Regions from separate parts of the Homo sapiens genome. Here region 1 is linked to region 2. Evidence: promoter capture Hi-C in human tissues and cell types (Jung and others, 2019). All regions are on one chromosome and are shown on one strand. Each heading gives the region's core, a stretch centred on a gene start or on the middle of the fragment in contact. The rest is flanking DNA. Distances are from core to core; before and after follow the strand shown. Region 1 overlaps BTRC (beta-transducin repeat containing E3 ubiquitin protein ligase). Region 2 holds the start of PDZD7 (PDZ domain containing 7).

Evidence for each region. Contacts are between HindIII fragments. The study calls those that stand out against the background at their distance.
Region 1: a contact is called between a fragment that was not itself captured here and the fragment with the promoter of PDZD7 in region 2, in 1 of the 25 tissues and cell types used here (lymphoblastoid cells).

Annotation. Positions count from the first base shown.
Region 1 is chr10:101,425,565-101,432,270 of GRCh38, reverse strand. BTRC (beta-transducin repeat containing E3 ubiquitin protein ligase) reads right to left here. Exons shown (of 15, transcript NM_033637.4): 2 at 1,819-1,926. Among named protein-coding and RNA genes, the nearest start is that of BTRC, 75 kb to the right of the region's middle. The HindIII fragment of the contact is 4,349 bases long and covers 1,452-5,800 here.
Region 2 is chr10:101,025,432-101,032,378 of GRCh38, reverse strand. PDZD7 (PDZ domain containing 7) reads left to right here and starts at 1,250. Exons shown (of 17, transcript NM_001195263.2): 1 at 1,250-1,306; 2 at 1,995-2,385. The coding sequence starts at 2,160. SFXN3 (sideroflexin 3) reads right to left here and starts at 1,145. Exons shown (of 12, transcript NM_030971.6): 1 at 845-1,145; 2 at 1-65. RefSeq lists an enhancer at 623-832. The HindIII fragment of the contact is 6,870 bases long and covers 1-2,209 here.

The DNA.
Region 1 (6,706 bases), core at 2,377-4,876, 400 kb before region 2:
CTGTAGTCTCAGCTACCCGGAAGTTTGAGGTAGGAGGGCAACTAGAGCCCAGTAGGCAGAGGTTGCTGTGAGTCGAGATTGTGCCACTGCACTCTAGCCTGGACAACAGAGCAAGACTGTCTCAAAAAAAAAAAAAGGAAAAAAAAGATATTTCACTTTGAAATAAATAAGCAGTCTCAGGATATCAATTACTCTCCAATAATAGCAATAATGTTTATAACGATCATGATAAAAGCAGCTACCATCACTGCATGCCCTTACTATAGTATCCATTTACAGATAAGGAAATAAGTTCAGGATCATACCACTAGTGACAAAGACAATATTCAAGACTTGATTTAGCTAATTTTAGAACCTGCATGCTTTACTATATTGTATCTCATAGTATAAGCCAAGGAAGTTTAATATTAAATTTTGTAAAGGAAAACTGAAAATCTTAAGATATTAAATTTTGTAAAGGAAAAATGAAAATATCCAGCTTTATGATCACTAAATAGTATCATTAAAAATTAACAACTCTTAGCATAGGTTAGGAATGTGGAAAACCTAAGTTCCCCTCTTTTAGCTAAAATTTAGTCACAAGCCTTCTGACACTTACAGCCTATCTTTGAAATTCTTCTAAATAGATATGAACAACAGGTTAAAAGCAGGCAAATATTAATATAAAAACTAATTTGTTGTGTATTACTATAAAATGCTAAACACAAATTCCAAATACCTGAGGTACGCAGATAAGACTCAGTCAAGAAAACAATCATGTATGGTACCCTAATCTGTAAGCAATGAGCACCAAACTCTTTCCTACGTTTTTGTCTACAATTTTCCACATTATTTCTCTATAAGTTTCTCGCACATCCTGGAACTGACATCCTGGCCTCTAAGAAAGGCTGAGGGGTCTGTGTGCGGTGGTTCTTGCCTGTAATTCCAGCACTTTGGGAAGCCGAGATGGGTGGATTACCTGAGGTCAGGAGTTCGAGACCAGCCTGGCCAACATGGTGAAACCCAGTCTCTACTAAAAATACAAAAATTAGCCAGGCGTGGTGGCGCGTAACTGTAATCCCAACTACTCAGGAGGCTGAGGCAGGAGAATTGCTTGAACCCAGGAGGCGCAGGATGCAGTGAGCTGAGATCACGCCACTGCACTCCAGCTTGCGCCATGAAGCAAGACTCCGTCTCAAAAAAAAAAAAAAAAAAAAAAAAGAAAGGCTGAGGGGAACTGGAATCTGTTAATTCATGAAACACTAGCTAGAGTGTCTCAAGGTGAATACTGTACCTAAAGGTCTCAAAGGTTTTTCCACCTAGAAATTAGAAATGTTAATCAAGATATAAATAAAACAGTTATAAAAAATATATACTTAGTAGTATAATTACCAGGAGATACTCTGAAGAGGGCACTTTATACTTTGAGTAATCATTTAAAAAAAATAAGAAAATGTTCAGGAAACTGATTGTAATTAATTGATTGATTATACTAATTGGCTTTATGTAGGTCCAGAGCAAATATTACGTATTGAACTGCTATTTATTGAGATTACTTTAAAATCTACTATCATACTTCTACTTGATCTGAAAGCCAACAGTCAAGCTGTACTATGTCAATTTTTGTAACCAATCATGATGACATTGTCTTAAGAGTGGATCAGTCTGGGTCTACATTATAAACTAATCATTAAAGGAGTACTGAGTGATGTGAGATACAGGCAATATGAAGGAGAAAAGATGAATATAAGTAAAGTATGGGAAAGGAGGAGGCACATACTAATGAATTAGACACATACACTAATGCCCGCAAATAACCCACAGAGACAGAGAAAGTACCTGGAAAGCTGTGAGTGCGCCAGTCCCTGGGTTATACAGGCATCGCAGCGAAGGCATGCTGTCCGCCAGGCTGGAGCAGCCCAGCCACAGAGACCTGGGCATAGAGCACTGCAGAGAGAGGACAACTATGAGATGGGACAGTATGAGACAGGATGGCACAGATTACAGGAATTTTTAAGGCTTGGCTGAACGCAATATTCCAGTTGCAGCTGACCTTTATGATAGAAACATCTTTAAGAAACACACTACTTACTGGCTTTAACCCCAGAGAGAATCCCAAAAGGGGCAGTAGTGGCCAAAAGGAAAGGAGGTAAAAAAAGAAGTTATCGTTCAAAAAACCAAACATTTAGTCAAAAACATTTTGTCCCTATTCTTCTATGTATCAGTCTAAAGGAAATCTACTTCTTAATCCAGTTGATCAATTATTTTCCTCTATGCACCTCAACTCAGCTCCCATAAACTCACCACAGGGTGTAATACTGTGCAGACTAAGCAGAAAGAGGAGGAGTTCACAGAAACATTACAATATTAGGAATGGTAAATTAGAAAACAAAACACCACAGTTAAGAGAGTTTTTTTTTTTTTTAGAAGGAAAAGAAAAAGTATTGTATCCCTACGGCTTTGACAGCAACAAACTCTGCACAGTTTGCGTATGTTTTATGTATCTTGTTAGTCTGCTATTCATTAACCAAAATGCACAGTTACCATAGCAGCTGCCTCTTCATCTTTCCAGATGGATTGGGGTCTGTGGGGGGTGGGGGGTATAAGGCGAGGGGAAGAAACAACCCAAACAGAAGGGAAAACAACAACAAAGAGAGACAGGGACACAGAGAGAGAGAAAGGAGAGACAGAGAAAAAGGAGAGAGAAAAGAGAGAGAAAGGAGAGAGAGAGAAGAAGAAGAAAAAGGAGGAGGAGGAGGAGGAGGAAGGGAGGGAGGGGAGGGGGGGAGGGGAGAGGAAGAGGAAGAAGACGACACCTAGAAAGCTGTTGGTATTAAAACCTTCTAAACAAACAAACAAAAATACCTAAGAATGTACATATATATAATACATATGGTATATTCAGTAGTCAAAAAAGGTAGAAATTACACATTTCTAGTAGCTCTAAGTAACTGACATTAGTATTATTGCAGCTACAGCTTTGTAAGAAAGAAACCATACTTTTCAAAACTATTTTTATATTCTTCATGTTTCTCTAAAAGTATCCCAGGATGAAATTTTATCCATCAACTTGAGTGCTATTACAGTCTAATAATAACTAAAAAACTAAATACCTAATCATGGCACATATAAAAACAGGGATACATATTTTAAAATATAGTAGTCAATATAGGTAACATTAAACCTTAAAATTACAGACTTTGAAATATTTTATATTGTCATAGACTTTTTTCTCCTTAAAACAATATAGTTGTAGAAAGTAATATTGGGAAACAAAATATGGTATTCACTGTTTACACCATCTAAAATTGATAAATGGACAATGAGAGCCATGCAAGAGGTTTGTGCCTGTGGTCCAAGCTACTCAGAAGACTGAGATGGGTGGATCGCTTGAGCCCAGGAGTTCAAATCCAGCCTGGGCAGCACAGCAAGATCCCGTCTCTTATCTAAATAAAGATAGATAGATAATGGGCTGCAAATAAATCCAAAGGAGATCTATGTATATCCCCTGATTTTAGATTATTATCCTCATTTTATTTACCACCCATAGGACTACGCTTAATACATTATCCTCATTTTATAGGTAAGGTGACTGATGCCCAGGAAAAATTAAGTATTTATCCATGATTATGAATTTACAAAGTAGGGAAGTAGGGACTAGAATCTTGGCCTGTTGCTTTCTAGTGCAGAATTCTTCCTCCTGCCTCCATCCATCCCTCAGTCATAAAGTGGACACTGGGCTTCAAAAGAAGGGTATCTGCTAAAGGCATCACCAGATAACATACCAAGCAAAACAGCTAAACTGCTTTGAATTACTCCAACAATCTCTGAACTTTGTTCACTGTTTTCAACGTTTCCTCACCTCAAGCTACGATCCATTTTATAAACAGCAGCTAAATAGAAAAATAATTGTCTTCACTTTGTTATCATGTCACTCTCATCAATAATTCATGATGAGATATCTACTGTATGAAATCCAAGCACTCTGTCAATCTGACATTTCCCCCACTGCCAACATCAACTCACCTTCTCTAATCTTCTAATTGGCCCTGGCACTCTAGCTAACTACCTACCTTGATATTTTGTTCAAATACTCATCTTACCCCTGTCTTTAAACTTATAATTTCCTTCTCCCTGTCATCCTGCCAATCCATATCGACCATTTACATCAATATCTCCTTAGAATTATGTATACTAATTTCAGTCTCTGCCAGCGGTTCTTAATAGCAGAGATTCTCACATTGGAAGGAGAAGGCAACAGAAAGAGAATGGAGAAAATAGGGTAAAAAAAGCTTCCTTGCTGTTGAGAATCACATTCTACTCATATTACTTCTTTATACGTATTAAGAATGCTTTGCTAATTTTTTAAGTAAATGATACTAAAATTTTCTTAAGGCTAATATTTTAATCATTTATTCAATAAATACTTATTAAATGCTGTTCTGGTAGTAGACACTGTCCTGGAGCCAGATGTGGTGGCTCAATCCTATAATCCCAGCACTTTGGGAGGGCGAGGCAGGTGGATCCCTTGAGCCTAGAAGTTCAAGACCAGCCTCAGTAATGTGGGAGACCCCATCTCTACAAAAAATTTAAAAAATAGCTGGGCATGGTGGCACATGCCTGTGGTCCTAGCTACTTGGGGAGGCTGAGATGGGAGGACTGCTTGAGCCAGGGATATCAGGGCAGCAATGAGCGGTGATCATGCCACTGCACACCAGCCTGGGCAACAAAGCAAGACCCTGTGGAAAGAAAGAAGAAAGAAAAGAAAGTAAGAGAAGAAAGAGAAGAAGGAAGGAAGGAAGGGACCCGTCTCAAAAAAAAAAAAAAAAATCCTTAACATAAAAGTAACTCATTGTTATAAGAAATGCTGTACACAGGCTGGGCACGGTGGCTCACGCCTGTAATCCCAGCACTTTGGGAGGCCAAGGTGGGTGGAACACAAGGTCAAGAGATCAAGACCATCCTGGCCAACACGGTGAAACCCCATCTCTACTAAAAATACAAAAATAAGCTGGGTATGGTGGTGCACGCCTATAGTCCCAGCTACTCAGGAGGCTGAGGCAGGAGAATCGCTTGAACCCGGAAGGCGGAGGTTGCAGTGAGCTGAGATTGTGCCACTGCACTCCAGCCTGGCGACAGAACAAGACTCCGTCTCAAAAAAAAAAAAAAAAAAAAAAAGAAAGAAAAAAGAAATGGAAATGCTGTACATACGCAATTGGTTAAGTTTCTGTGTGTGCTGGGTAGAAAAAAATCTCACAGTCATTCGGAAGGAAAGATTGAATCTGAGAAAAAAGAGAAGTCAGAAGTGGGTGTAAATAAATAGAGCATGAAAACACAGGAAAAGGACAAAGGAAATAGTGGAAGAAAATCGAGGAGGCACTGGAAGGTAGCTTGTCGCTTCTCCTGCTTCCCTTCACAAGAGGGCAGGCGACACTTTTAACCATACTAAAGCCACCTGCATGGCATACAGCAAGCACAGCTGGGTCTAGAAACCAACCAGAACCCTTTCATTCACAGACTTGGGGCTCTTTTTAAAATTAAAATATACATATTTATTTTTGTGAATGCTCCTTGGTAAGTTTTTAAGGCTTTCCTCTTGTGAATGATTTGTCTCCTCCGTTTTACATAAAAATCTGCGTTATTTTTGTAGTATGTACTTGATAAATTATCTGAGTTTACTTACTCGTTCTAACACACTTCCTCATTCATTTATCCCTATCCTCCATCAAAACTACTAACAACAAAGAATTTGAAAGTGCTTACCCCATCCCCTTAAACTAAAATTCCCAAAGAAAATTATAATCAGTAATGAGCCACATACACCCAGGAAAGCCACTAGATATACCGGTGTGATTTCCAAAATAGCATTAATTTGCAAACACCACACAGAGGATGCATTCCCGATTATTACAAGACAATTGGTATGGGTATGAAAACTATACTTGAATATAGTCAGATCTGCACATTACCATAAGATTTTATATATTATGGCTCAATTTAAAAACTAATCTTCAAATTGGTTTGTTTTGTAACAATTAATCTTATCTATACTGGTAAATGCCACTTAACACTGAGAAAAAATATTATTACAAAATAAATGGAGTGGGCTATAACTTTTACTCTACCTGTTTCCCTTCTATCTTCACATTTAGAAGCATTTCGTAAAAGAAGGAGAAAATAGCAAATTTGGGCAATGAGGAACAAAGTGGAAAGGACTGTCATTTTGGTTACTATCCTTATTAAGTCTATACATTTCAGGGCCATTCTGATTGGTCAGTTTCTGACAAATATGTAAGATGTTTTCTGTCCTTCAACATTTAATAAATAATGCCCTTTAAAATTTACCTTTAAAATACCTGAAAAGCACATAGTTTTCTACTTAAAGTTTGGACTGTTTTTGTTGTTTTTCCTTGCAAATTATATTTAAATTCCTAAAATTTTCTTTCTATACTTAATTTTTTTTCCCTTTCTTTCCTTTTATTGAGACAGAGTCTCACTCTCTTGCCCAGGCTGGAGTGCAGTGGCACGATCACAGCTCACTGCACCCTTGACCTCCTGGACTTAAGCAATCCTTCTGCCTCAGCCTGCCCAGTAGCTGGGACTACAGGCGTGCACCACCACGCCTGGCTAAAAAACATTTTTTTTAATTAAAAAAAAAAAAAAAAGCAGGTTTTAAACTAAGCAGCAACTACGCATTCTCCTGTTTAAATATTTACCTTCTGTTAAC
Region 2 (6,947 bases), core at 1-2,500:
ACCAGCAGGGAGGGGCAGGAGCTTCCCGGCCGCGCCCACCCGGTGGGCACGGGGATTGGCAGAACCTGAGGGCGGTGGGTGTCATTCGAGGCGATGCCCCCAGCCTGGGCCACCTGGACCAGGCCCTAAGCTGCTTCCCAGAGCCAATCCCACCTCGGGGATCAGTTCTGGCCCCCTCCCCAGCCAAAGGGAGGAGGGGCTGGAGCCGCGGGCGCTGCTCCCTTGGTTTACAGTCCCCTGGCGGGCCTCAGCAGACCCCCAGCCCTGCAGCAAGCGGTCTAGGTGCCCAGAGAGAAAGCCCCGGGCGCAGGTGGGCGGTGTGGAGGGGCGGTCCTCTGCTGGCGCGCCGGGAGGGACTCGGGTTACCGCCTGGCTTGTTTACTTGATGGCTGCCTTGGCAATGGCCTTTGGCTTGCTTGTCCCCCTGGGCTCCTACCCCAGTATCCACAAGCTCCTCTTGTAGCAGCGCGGCATTCGCATCACTTCACAGCCCCGTTCCTGTCGTGCCTGTGCCTCTTCTATGTCCCCAGCCCTCTCCCTGCTCCCCCTCTGTAACCCCTAGCTCCACTGTGTCCCTGGTCTCCTTACGCTCCCAACCCCTAGCCCTGCACCCCAGACCGTAGCCCCACCCCTGAGATGTGGAGGGGCAGACGACCCCAGGAACCTCGCGGTCTGCATCCGAGCAAGTGCATCAGAAGGATTCTTAGGATTCTTCCGGTCCTGGGACCAGCTGCCCCACCCTGCGACCATTCCAGAACTGGGTAGCCAGAGACGCCTTCTGACAGAGGAGGAGGATGCAAGTGAAGAAGGCACCCCCTCCGCCACGCACATACTCACAACTCACCCAGCCACCACACAGAGCACGCCTGCAGCAAACTCAGGCTCACGTCCCGCTCTGCCCCGTGACGTCCCTCCACGGAGGCCTCAAGGGTGCCCAGGGAGGGGTGGCAATTCCAGGAGCCCCGGTAGCTGGCTCGGCTCAGAGAAGAGGTGGTTCGAGCCGGAGGGGAACAAGCCAGACCCAAGCCCTAAATTTGCGGAATGAGCTAGGGCGTCAGAACCAGAACTGGGGTGGGTAAAGAACTCCGCTGCCCGGGACCAGGTAACGCTCGGCTGTCCCTGGCGCCTAAGGGAGGTGCCGGAATAGAATGACTGGCGGCCCTACCAGCCAATGGGAGCCCGGGGCGGTGCAGGCCAGCCCAATTCCCGCAGCCTCCGCGCAGCGTGGGTGGGGTTTGCCGGCTGCGGCAGTAGCTCTCGCCTGCGGGTGGTTTGACAAGGCTGGCGGCGCCACACCAGCGACCAGGTGAGGCCGACCAGGCACAAAGGGGTGGGGGGCCTGGAGGGCCGAGTTGATGTTGGGGTGCTTCATTCTAGGTCCCAGAGCTTCTCTGAGGGAACTGGCCCTGGGTTTTGCGCGGGATGTCGTGGGACCCCTCTCCAGCAGATCCTCCCCAAAGCTTGGGAGAGGTTCATGCAGCCTCTTTAGACCCGGAGCCGCAGCCTGGAGCCCGCGGGTGTCTGGGGGTCTTCCTGGGCCTCAGCTGTCTAAGGTCCTGAAGCCCTATCCTCGAGGCCCAGCCCGCCCCACGCAGCCCCCGCCCCACCCCGGGCCACCTCCATGCCCGCATATGCATGAGAGAGGTGATGCCATGAGCTGTCCTGACCTCTCTTTTGTCTCACACCTCTCTAAGCCCCAGGGCCCGCAGTAATCCCAACTCCACTCTCAACCTCTACTGAGGACTGGGGACGGGAGTAGATGACTCAGCCCCGAGCAGGAATGAGGGGTGAAAGGTTCCCACCTGCCTTGTATAAAGTCAGCGAGAGTCCAAGATGGTGCCTGGACGGGGCAGTTCTCTGGCCTAGGGTGAGACAGGAGGGGGGCCTAAGGCATGGGAGGGCAGGATGCTTAAACCAGGGGGAGGGGTGGAAGTTTTAGGGGGCAGCAGGGGAAACATTTACACCCCTCCCTCATCCCTGCTCTCCCTGCCCAGGCCTGGAGCTCACACTTCTGAGAGGCATCGCAAGCGAGGGCCTTCACGTTACTGAGACCCCAGCCCCGCACAGAGGCTCATGGAGCTCGAAGCACGCAGGGCTGGCCTCTCCAGAGCTAGCAGATTCCTTCTGGACCTGTAGGGTGCCGCCCTAGCCCAGCCGCCATGGCGCAGGGTTTCGCAGTGGGCTTCGACCCACTGGGCCTAGGAGACCTGAGCTCCGGCTCTCTGAGCTCCCTCTCCTCCCGAGGCCACCTAGGCAGCGACTCAGGCTCCACCGCAACGCGATACCTGCTAAGGAAGCAACAACGGCTGCTGAACGGGCCCCCCCGCGGAATCCGAGCCTCATCGCCCATGGGACGCGTCATCCTCATCAACTCCCCCATCGAAGGTAGGGGCGGGACCCAGCCACTGGCCTGGGTTGGGGAGGGTGGGGGTAGGGGACAATGGGAACTCAGCAGGAGGAGGCAGAGCCAGTATGATTGGGGGAATTCAAGAGATGGGAGTCACAGGGAGGTGGCAGGCCGCCTGGGAACCCATACACTCTTCCTCACCTGCCCTTGGCCTCTCCTCCAGGCCAATCCTGCAGGGGTCCAGGGTCGTAGAAGGGTCAGAGGAGGGAAAGAAGGCCATGGCAGCAGGGACAGGCATGCGTGTGGTATGCTAGCCCCTGGTGGACAAGGCAGGGGATTGAACTGGCCTCTCTCCCATGGGCTCTGCCCTTCTCCAGATCCATTGTGTGTACTTCTGGGGGATGGGGCAGGATAAAGAAGGACATCCTCCATCAACCAGTCCATTGTGTGACAAGCTCTGTGCTGGGCTGCGAGGAGTCAGTGCCCAAGCGGGTAGACAGAATTCAGGGCTTCCGTGCTGAAGGAGGGGAATGAAGGCAGCACAGCAAATGTTCAGAAGAGGAGGGTTGAGGGTGGAGAGGGAGCTCCATCAGGGAAGGGGAGACCTAAGCTTATGTAGTTGCTTAATGCCGCTTCATGGAGCACAATTCTATACCAGCCCTGGGGAGGTGTTACAAGGGACCTAGAGAGAAATCAGGCTCCCTCTTCACCTTCCAGGAATCTACAGTGTAGCAGGACAGAGCAATAAGAACAGCTGGTGGCAGGGGTGAGCTGTCACCAACAAAGGCTGGAAGTGAAAAGCATGGAGCATGGTAGGTGGGCACTTAGGAGCCAGCCTGGCTGTAGTGACAGATGTGAGGTGACTAACAGCTGATGAGCAAGACAGGACCTAGAATGCCAGGTGCGGAGCCAGGCCCCCTGAGTCTGAGCTTTCTGTGAGCAGGACCAGATAAATATCTCCAGCTCCTCTCCTCTTTCTTAGCCAGCAGAGCTCCCCTGGCTGGATCCCAGACTGGACTGTTCAGGCCCTGCTCCTCCCCCTCTGACCCAGCAGGGCATCTCTCTTCCCCTCCCTAGGCCACTGGAGCAGGGTGGGGCATGTTGCTCAGGGAGCAGGCTTTCCTCCACCAGTGCCCTGGCACGCTCACCCCTGTCATACACCAGTCTATGCTTCACCCTCTGGTGAGCACAGGGCACTGCTGAGGGTCACCACGGTCATTCTGGTGAGGGAGCAGAAGTCCCCAGAGGAGTTAGGAGACATTGGGGAAAAGGGAAGCAGGCACCGCATAACTGTCTTTATTAGTCCCATTCTATTAAAAGAACTATGCTATACTCCCTCTGATACACTCTTTCTGTTTCTCTCTCTCTCCCCTTCCCTTTGCCCATGTATGATGCAAGCGCTGTTTATAACGTCTTTTTTTTTTTTTTTAAGAGGGAAAGGGTCTTGCTCTGTCGCTCACCCAAGCTGAAGTGCAGTGGTGTGATCATAGCTCACTGCAGCCTCAAACTTCTGGGCTCAAGTGATCCTCCAGCCTCAGCCTCCTGAGTAGCCAGAACTATAGGCATGCAACACCAAGCCCAGCTAATTTTATTTTATTTTATTTTTTGTAGAGACAGAGTTTCACCATGTTGCCCAGGCTGGTCTTGAACTCCTAGGCTCAAGTGATCTTCCGGCCTCAGCCTCCCAAAGTGCTGGGATTATAGGCATGAGCCACCATGCCTGGCCTATACTGTCCCTCTAAAGATCCTCTTCCAGGGGTTTCATGATTGCTTTCTCCCTCTGCCTCATGCTAGCGCCACTGTGCAGCCAAGGAAGCAGCATCTCCTAGCAGTGAGGGACTGAGGAGTTGCTCTGACCACTTGGCTTCTCCTCTGACTGGACTGGGACCCTCTGAGCTCAGAATTCTCCCCTCTGCCTGAGAACAGGTATCTCCCAAGTCACCGCAGCCTGGAACCCTGCCCCATGTTATTATTTAGATCACTCCCGGGGAGTAAAGTAACTGATAAGGAATAAACGGTGACATTGCCACCTACATCGGCCCCATGAGATCCCACCAGCTCCTTAAATTCAACTGGTCCCAGAGAAAATGCATTACCTTTAATCCAGGAAAGCATTACCCTTAATGCATTTCTCCTCACTCTCCTAGTTTGACCATCCATCCATCCATTTATTCTTTCACTTATTCAAAAAAAATACCTATCAAATACCAAGCACTGTCCAACATATTGGAGATATACTAGAAGAGTATTACGAAGTCCCCACCATGATTGAACTTATGGTCTAGTGAAAAGAGACAGATAAATCACAAATAAGCGAACGACGACAAAGGATGGGAAGAGTCAGAATGTGATCATCTGATGACATGATAGAATGGTGCTTCTCAAACCTCAGATGCCTCAGAATTGCCGGGAAGGCTCATTCAGGGATAGATTGCAGGGCTCAGTCCCAGAGCTTCTGGTCCAGTGGGTCTGTGGTAAAGCGAAGGAATTCCCGTTTTTAGCAAGTTCTCAGATGACACTGACGCTGCTGATCCAGGATTACGCTTTGAGAAGCCCTACAAGAGGTACTCACTGGGAGGAAGGGAGGACACTCCAGGAAGCCTTCTCCAAGAAAGTGGTGTCTGAGCCAGGAGGGGAACGAGGAAGAGGAGCTGACCTTCTAAAGGCCTGGGCAGGAGCACTGCAGGCAGAGGGAACACTGGAAGGGCTTGGCCTCCATGAGGAACAGGAAGATCAGTGTGGCCAGAGCTCAGTGAGGGAGGGGAGGGTGGAGGGGAGGGCGGAGGGGTGGGCAGAGGAAAGCCCAGGCAGGGCCTTATAGGGCATGGTGAGGAGACTGGAGTTCTAGAAGCAGGAACAGGTGTTGAAGTTTTTAATCAGGGAAAAGACATGAGCTAATGTAAAAGCTGACTCTGGGTACTGTATAGAGAATAGCTAAAGGCGGCAAGAGTGGAAGCAAGGATAGTGCCGGGGCTGCAGTGGAGCACCTGGGGGAGAGGCTGGGGCAGTGGAGGTAGAGAAGATTCCATCCTTGCAGGGCTCAGGCTCCTGGAAAATCTCAGATTTCACATTCCCTGACCTAGGGCCCTAGGGAGGCCCCAGTGAGGCCCTGAGGAGAGAGGGTTGGTAGCAAGGGAGTAAAAGGCTCCTTGGCTAAGGCTGAAAGTGTCCTGAGATCTGTGTAATCTAATCAGCTGGGAAAGCCCTGGCCCCCCACATCTGTCCTGCACCACCCCTCCCCCCAGGCTGCCCTCGGGGATTTCTTTCTGAGCTGCCCTGGCCGTGCCCTGTAACCTGACTTCTCTTAGATCAAATTGAAGTGTGTGTGTGTGTGTGTGTGTGTGTGTGTGTGTGTGTGTGTGTGTGTGATTTCTCCCTGTCAAACACCTCTAGAGTAACCCTTACCTATGAAGAAATCTCAGCTTCTCACCTGGGACCCAACTTACCCCTCCAGCCTTCTTGCTTTTCTGTAACTGGAAGGCCTCCTCAAGGGCCCACAGCTGAGCCTCCCTGGCTCTTTCCCCCTCATCAGTGCCCCCCCTTACCCCCCACCCATCAAAATCCCACCCATCAGAGTCCTTACAGAAACCTTACCTGGCCTGGGCAAGGTGGCTCACACCTGTAATCCCAGCATTTTGGGAGGCCGAGGCAGGTGGATCACTTGAGGTTAGGAGTTCGAGACCAGCCTGGCCAACATGGTGAAACCCTGTCTCTACTAAAAGTACAAAAATTTGCCCGGCATGGTGGCACATGCCAGTAATCCCAGCTACTAGGGAGGCTGAGGCAGGAGAATCGCTTGAACCCAGGAGGTGGAGGTTGCAGTGAGCCAAGATTGAGCCATTGCACTCCAGCCTGGGAGAAGAAGCGAGATTCCGTCTCAAAAAAAAAAAAAATTCTTCCCCGACAGGTTCAACCTTTAGGAACCCCCTTCCCCGCCTACTTTCCCCAGCGTGATGGAGAGGGCCGCCTTGGGCACATACGTATTGCAGTGTGGTGTGGTCTGGGGTTTCTTTCCCTTTGTAGCCAGGTAGTTCCTAGAACTCTGACTTCCAGAATCACAGAGTCTAACAGATGGGAGGACCCTCAGGGATTCCATAACATCCCAGACAGAGATTTGCTGGGTCCCAGCTTGCATGCCTCCAAAGATGGGAGGCTTACTATCTGTCTTAGAAAATCTCTTCCATTGGCCGGGTGTGGTGGCTCACGCCTGTAATCTCAGCACTTTAGGAGGCCAAGGCGGGCAGATCACGAGGTCAGGAGATCAAAACAATCCTGGCCAACACGGTGAAACCCCGTCTCTACTAAAAATACAAAAAATTAGCCGGGCGTGGTGGTGGGCGCCTGTAGTCCCAGCTACTCGGGAGGCTGAGGCAGGAGAATAGCGTGAACCTGGGAGGTGGAGCTTGCAGTGAGCTGAGATCGCACCACTGCAGTCCAGCCTGGGCGACAGAGCGAGACTCTGTCTCAGATAAATAAATAAATAAATAAATAAATAAATAAATAAATAAAATCCCTTCCATTTCAAGGCTGGGGTGGTGGCTCACTCCTGTAATCCCAATGCTTTGGGAGGCCAAGGCAGGTGGATCACGAGGTCAGGAGT